2 separate regions of the Homo sapiens genome follow, and region 2 is linked to region 1. The links are contacts of gene promoters, found by promoter capture Hi-C in blood cells and fetal thymus (Javierre and others, 2016). All regions are on one chromosome and are shown on one strand. Each heading gives the region's core, a stretch centred on a gene start or on the middle of the fragment in contact. The rest is flanking DNA. Distances are from core to core; before and after follow the strand shown. Region 1 holds the start of WWC2-AS2 (WWC2 antisense RNA 2). Region 2 overlaps CDKN2AIP (CDKN2A interacting protein).

The links. Contacts are between HindIII fragments. The CHiCAGO score rates a contact against its expected background, and 5 or more counts as called.
Region 2: a fragment that was not itself captured here is called in contact with the fragment with the promoter of WWC2-AS2 in region 1 in 1 of 17 cell types (monocytes); the score reaches 5.2 in monocytes.

Annotation. Positions count from the first base shown.
Region 1 is chr4:183,097,792-183,100,604 of GRCh38, reverse strand. It overlaps WWC2-AS2 (WWC2 antisense RNA 2), which reads left to right and starts at 1,406. Exons shown (of 1, transcript NR_024008.1): 1 at 1,406-2,813. It overlaps WWC2 (WW and C2 domain containing 2), which reads right to left and starts at 1,348. Exons shown (of 23, transcript NM_024949.6): 1 at 983-1,348. The coding sequence starts at 1,113. RefSeq lists a silencer at 2,295-2,589 and an enhancer at 2,295-2,589. The HindIII fragment of the contact is 3,980 bases long and covers 1-2,500 here.
Region 2 is chr4:183,448,847-183,451,659 of GRCh38, reverse strand. CDKN2AIP (CDKN2A interacting protein) reads right to left here. Exons shown (of 3, transcript NM_017632.4): 3 at 2,596-2,813. Among named protein-coding and RNA genes, the nearest start is that of CDKN2AIP, 5.6 kb to the right of the region's middle. The HindIII fragment of the contact is 4,907 bases long and covers 1-2,813 here.

The sequences.
Region 1 (2,813 bases), core at 157-2,656:
GGCCACATTCAATAAAGTTATAATTTTCAGAAATGACAAAAGTCCAAATGTCGAAGTTATCCCTGGTGGCACGTTATTTAAATTTACAATTAGGAATATCTCCTTAATGGATAATTTACAAATTTATAATTAGGAATACCTCCTATTATTCTTACAATAATTCTAAGAAATTTTAAGGGTAAAAAAAATATGGGACACAGAAACATTTGTGAACCTTCAGTTCCTGAACCAATTTAAAAAACAAAAAACAAAGAAACCAGGCTAAGCTCAAATCAGAGTGCCTCAATACCCAACGTTAATTTCACTACATCTCCCTTCCAAACACAATATGCCTGTTCCCGATCTGGGAGTCGGTTCAAGTTTTCAGGTGAAGACTAACGACAGACAGCGAAACCCCCAAACGCGCGTTTTTAAACTCTGAGGGGCAAAGTCAGTCACACCCACTAGCAGGGCCCGGCGGGGGGCGGGAGCCCCTTCCCAGCTCGGGACCTCCGGCCAGTCTGGGCGCCCCCGCCAAGAGCTCGCAGCCCAGGCTCCCGCGCCAAGGACGGCCTGAGGGATGCCACAGGTGGCCCGGAGGGCTCGTTCCCCAACTGGCAGTGAGGCCCTAGCCCACCCCCGCCGCCCAGAGGCCGAAGGTGTCCTGCAGCCTCCACGTGGGCACCTCGAAGCCTAGGGAAGTTCCTAACAGGGCTCAGGTGGCCCCTCGGGTCCGTTAGCCTGGCGCGCGGCGTCGGCCCGGGGCAGCGACTCCAGCCTTGCCTCGGGGCCGGGTCCCCGGAGGGGCGTCGGGAAGCCGGTGGGCGGAGGAGCCCGGGTACGGGCGGCTCCTCGGCCCCGCCGGAGCAGCCAGCCCCACATCCCTCCCGGGACCCCTCGGGGCACCGCGGGCCGGCGCCGCCCCAGCCCCCCGCGCGGCCGGGTCTCCGGGACAACAGCCGCCGTGTCCGAACGGGCCCGCGCCCCCGCGGCCGGCGCCCACCTGTCCCGGGGGTCGATCCAGCTGGTCCTCCTGGTGTTGTGGTCAATGTAGAAGACCTTGCCGTCGTAGTCCCTGGCCTCCTCCCAGCCCCGGGGCAGCGGCAGCTGACCGCTCCCGGCCCTCCTAGGCATGGTCGGCGGCCTCGCCGGCGAGCGGCGCCTCCATAGGTACCGGGCGCGGGACGCGGCGGGAACGCGGCTGCCGGGCTAGGCTGCCAACCCGCGACGCGGGCGCCGGCGAGGGGCTGAGGGGCGCAGGGCGCGGGGCGCGGCGGAACCACGCGCGGGAGGTGCCTCAGGAAACGCTGTTCGCGGCCCCGCTGCGGATCAGTCCACCATGTCTGCGTCGGAGCCGGCGAGCGAACCCTCCTCCCCCTCGCCGCCGCTGCCTCCGCCTCTTCCTCCTCCTCCGCCCCGTCCCCCTCTGGCCGCCGAGGGTCGCGGCGCCCAGGCTGCCGGAGCCGCCGCCGTCTGGGCTCGGATCCGGGAAGCTGCGGCGCTGCCGCGGCAGCGGCGGGCCCCTCATTTGCATGCGATTAGCATGCGCCCGCCCGCCTCATCTGCATGCGCATTCCTCGCGCCGCATTCCTGAGCTTAACCCCGCCGCTGCCGGCGTCGCCGCACCAGCTCGGACGCACTGCCCCGCGGGGCCGCGGCTCCAGGTGGGAGGAAGGCGGGCGAAGGAATGTGCGGCCAGCTCCCTCCCCTTGACCCCAGATAGCTCCCCTGGGCCAAACGCCGAGAGGTTTTAGAGTTTCTGGACGGGGAAGATTGCAAAAGTCTCCGCAACCTTCTCAACCTCTTTCGTCTTCTAGGGAAACCACAAAACTTTCGAGAGGAAAGGGGTGGCGGGCGGGGAGCTCTCCTCCGGAGAAAAAACCTCAACAAGCGGAGAGGGCACAAAGGCTCCCCACGCCGCGCCCCGAGCCCCTCCGGCACCCCAAGGGCGGTCCGGGGTGGTGGGAAAGCGCCAAGCCCTGGGAGTGCGTCGGTGGGTCCGGGACGGCGGGGCCTCCGCCAGGGCTCCTGGCCCTCGATGACCTCGGCTGAGACCGCGAGCCGCGCGGCGGAAAGCGGAGGAACTCCCGTCCGGCCCTGTAGCCGCCCGCACCGCGCCCCGTCACCCGCCGCCCCTTCGCGTCCGGGCGCTCCAGCCGCGGGGCCCCGGAAGCTCCTGGTCCCTGGCCTCCCCTGCTTGGTTCGGGGCGGTTGGCCGTGGACGCGCCCCGACTCTAGTCCCTTCCGTCCAGCCGCCCGCCCCAGGATGTCCCCCCACCGCAGCCCCGCCGTGGCCAGGAGGTGTGGGCGGCCACGCCGGAGGGACCCACGGCGGCGCCGGACGCCCGCCCTTCCTAGGCCCTGGCCCGGCCGGGGTGGGCCGGGACGTTCCCTGTTGCATAGGCATTTATTTATTCAGCAGCTACTACGTACGTGCTGGCCCGCACTGCCGAGGGACCGGACGCCTGCCCCAGGCGGGACAATGCCGGGTGCAGCGCTGGCGGGGCCTGGACGCCAAGCTTCAGGGTCCCCAGCCCCTCAGTCAGAGGGGGCGCCTCCCAGGCCCTGGACTCCTCTCCAGCCGGGTCTACACCACCGTCCCCCGTCATCTTCTTCTGGGTTACTGAGCAGCTTCTTTTAAAATAGCAACACCGAGGAAGGCCCCGAAGCCCAGTCTTGCACCTCGTGGTGTGAAGTCGTTTAATCCTGCCCGCTAATGCGTAAGGACTTTCCACCGTGTGCAGGACTCCGCGCTGGGCAGGGGCTCTCGCAGGGTTTGAACCGACCTCCGCCTCCCCTGCGGGTTCACAGGCCTGCGAGGAAGTCGCGTGAAG
Region 2 (2,813 bases), core at 109-2,608, 350 kb before region 1:
CCCAAATCACCTTTTTGTACATTTGTCTCTAGCTTCCAAGTTATATACATTGCACATGATAGTCCCACTTCAGTAAAATGGTAGTCTTTAGTGTATTTACTACTTATATTGTTTAGTTTGGTTGCTTCCTAAGACCTCCAAGGATTCTGATTCTATTCAATAAAGTTTCAAATTCACAAAGTATTTCTGATTGCTTCTTAAGTACTGGCATATGTAATCTCTAGTTTTTACTCAAAATGTCCTGTATCCAACCCTTTGTGTTTAGTATTACTTTTTTTTTTTTTTTGACACGGAGTCTCACTCTGTCACCCAGGCTGGAGTGCAGTGGCACAATCATAGCTCACTGCAACCTCCACCTCCCAGGTTCAAGCGATTCTCCTATCTCAGCCTCCCAAGTAGCTGGGGTGACAGGCACGCACCACCACGCCCAGCTAATGTTGTAGTTTTATAAGATAAAGTTTCACCATTTTGGCCAGGCTGGTCTCAAACTCCTGACTTCAGGTGATCCGCCTGCCTTGGCCTCCCAAAGTGCTGGCATTACAGTTGTGGGCCACCATGCCCAACCTAGCATTACTTTTCTTTTTTCCCTTCAAAGTTAAAAGTCCATTTAGTTTGGGGCCTTGTCTACTCTTTTTCTTGCTAGATGAATAGCAAAGGAACAGAAAAAGAACTTTAAAAACTAATAATTTTCAGATAATGACTTTTAAAGGAGAAAAATCGGCTGGGCACAGTGGCTCACGCCTGTAATCCCAGCAATTTGGGAGGCTGAGGCAGGTGGATCACAAGATCAGGAGTTCGAGACCAACCTGACCAACATGGTGAAACCCCGTCTCTACTAAAAATACAAAAAAATTAGCTGGGTGTAGTGATGCACGCCTGTAATCCCAGCTACTCAGGAGGCTGAGGCAGGAGAATTGCTTGACCCCAAGAGGCCGAGGTTGCAGTGAGCCGAGATCACGCCACTGCACTCCAGCCTGGGTGACAGAGCAAGACTCCCTCTGTCTCAAAAAAAAAACAAACAAAAAAACAAAACAAAAACAAAAGGAGGAAAATCGAGAGATATTAAAATTAAAGTTGGTAGTAAGAAATGGTTCTAACTGGATGGCAACTAAGCTGTGTGCAGGGATGCCAAAGAAATATGATTGATATTTTTCTTGGGGAGGAATAGTTGGGCAATAAATGGCTTAACCCTTCATTCAACTTGAACATTTTGTTCTAGTAGAAAGTGAAATAGTTTATTCATCAATCACAGAAAATATTATTTAAAAATCATGCAGGAATGGATAACCAATGTCTAGAAAGTAGGTCAATATAGGACTTCAGCACAATTTTTGAGGACAAAGTCCACAAAGTAGTAACACAATACCTGTAGGACTGACCTGATTCCCAATTGCGGCTTGTTTTTGTTACTTTCTCACTGCTGTTACTCAAAAATCTAAACAGCAAGTAGAAATTTGTACCAAGAAAAGCTGCACTTGGCAGGGAAAACATAATTCAAATTGGAGCAGGCTCCTGATAATACATATCAAAGGCCTTAAAGTTACACATATCCCTATGACAATTATCCTAGCCAATGACAGCAGTGACAGGCTCCAAGAATTTAGGTCAAAAACTCATGACAGTATCATTCTTACAAGTCAACTAATTTTACCATTAAAAAAAAAATCTCATTCTAACATCAAGAAAAATCTTGATGTCTCAGGAAATCGTCTCCCCTCACTCATCTGAAAAAAGCAGTATATCCCATCTTGGTAGCCGACTTTATTCACTCAACTTGATTATACACTATTTTAGGCAGGTGTGTTTGGTTTTTTGGTTTTGGGGGGTTTTTTGTGCAGATTTCTTTTGTGTGTGTATGGTCTTTTTACAAAGTTCAACTGCATCCATATGGGATGATTCACTAGTTGAGGATATTCAAGATATGCAAGTATTAGAAGCATTAATAATAGAAGAGCCTCTGAAGTGACTCATTTCAAGGAGGCTTTAGAAAGATGCGGTCACTTAATCTGGTAAAAAATCACGTTCTGGGAGGGATTTTCAGAAATTTCAGCATATAGAGAAGTGACAAGGATAATAAGCAGTACAACATACTTGAGCTTGGGTTTTGAAATCAGATATGGGCTTGAATTATCTGACCGAATTACTCTGTGTAAGTTTCTCCATCTGAAAAGTAGGCCAAATGAGAAGAGCTCCTTGTAAGAGGAATAAGAATATATAAGTGAACCATGGGATATCTGCACCATGCCGGGCACTTTGAATGTATCATCTCATCTAACTGCCATGCTCTATGAGACAGCTATTAGTCCTATTTCACAGACGAAGTAAGGTTAAAAGGTTAAATTCCCAGAGGTTACATGTCTAGTAAGAGACAGCCAAGATTCACTCTCAATAATAGAATTCTAAAATATGCATTTCTCTTAAACCAGGATTCTTTAAATGTTATTAACCAAGAGCATTTTTCTAGGTTTTTAAATAGGATTATCATAAATGTACACTAAACAACTTCCTCCACATCAAAAGTCACTATAAAACATTCTCAATAACCTTCATAGTAACTTGAAACAAGCCAATTTAGGAAATTACCAAACCACCTAATTGGATATATTATATAAATTTATTTGTTCGTTGTAATTTTTTGCTTTTCTGATAATCATTATCCCACAAAATACACATTCCAAGACTGAGGAAAGTGAGGTAACTAAAAGTGCTTTCACAATACATTCATGTTATTGTGTCCCGCAATCTATAAAGGCAACCCACTTACAGTATATGGATTTTAGCTTTGGTATCCAATTAAATATCCTCAAAAATGA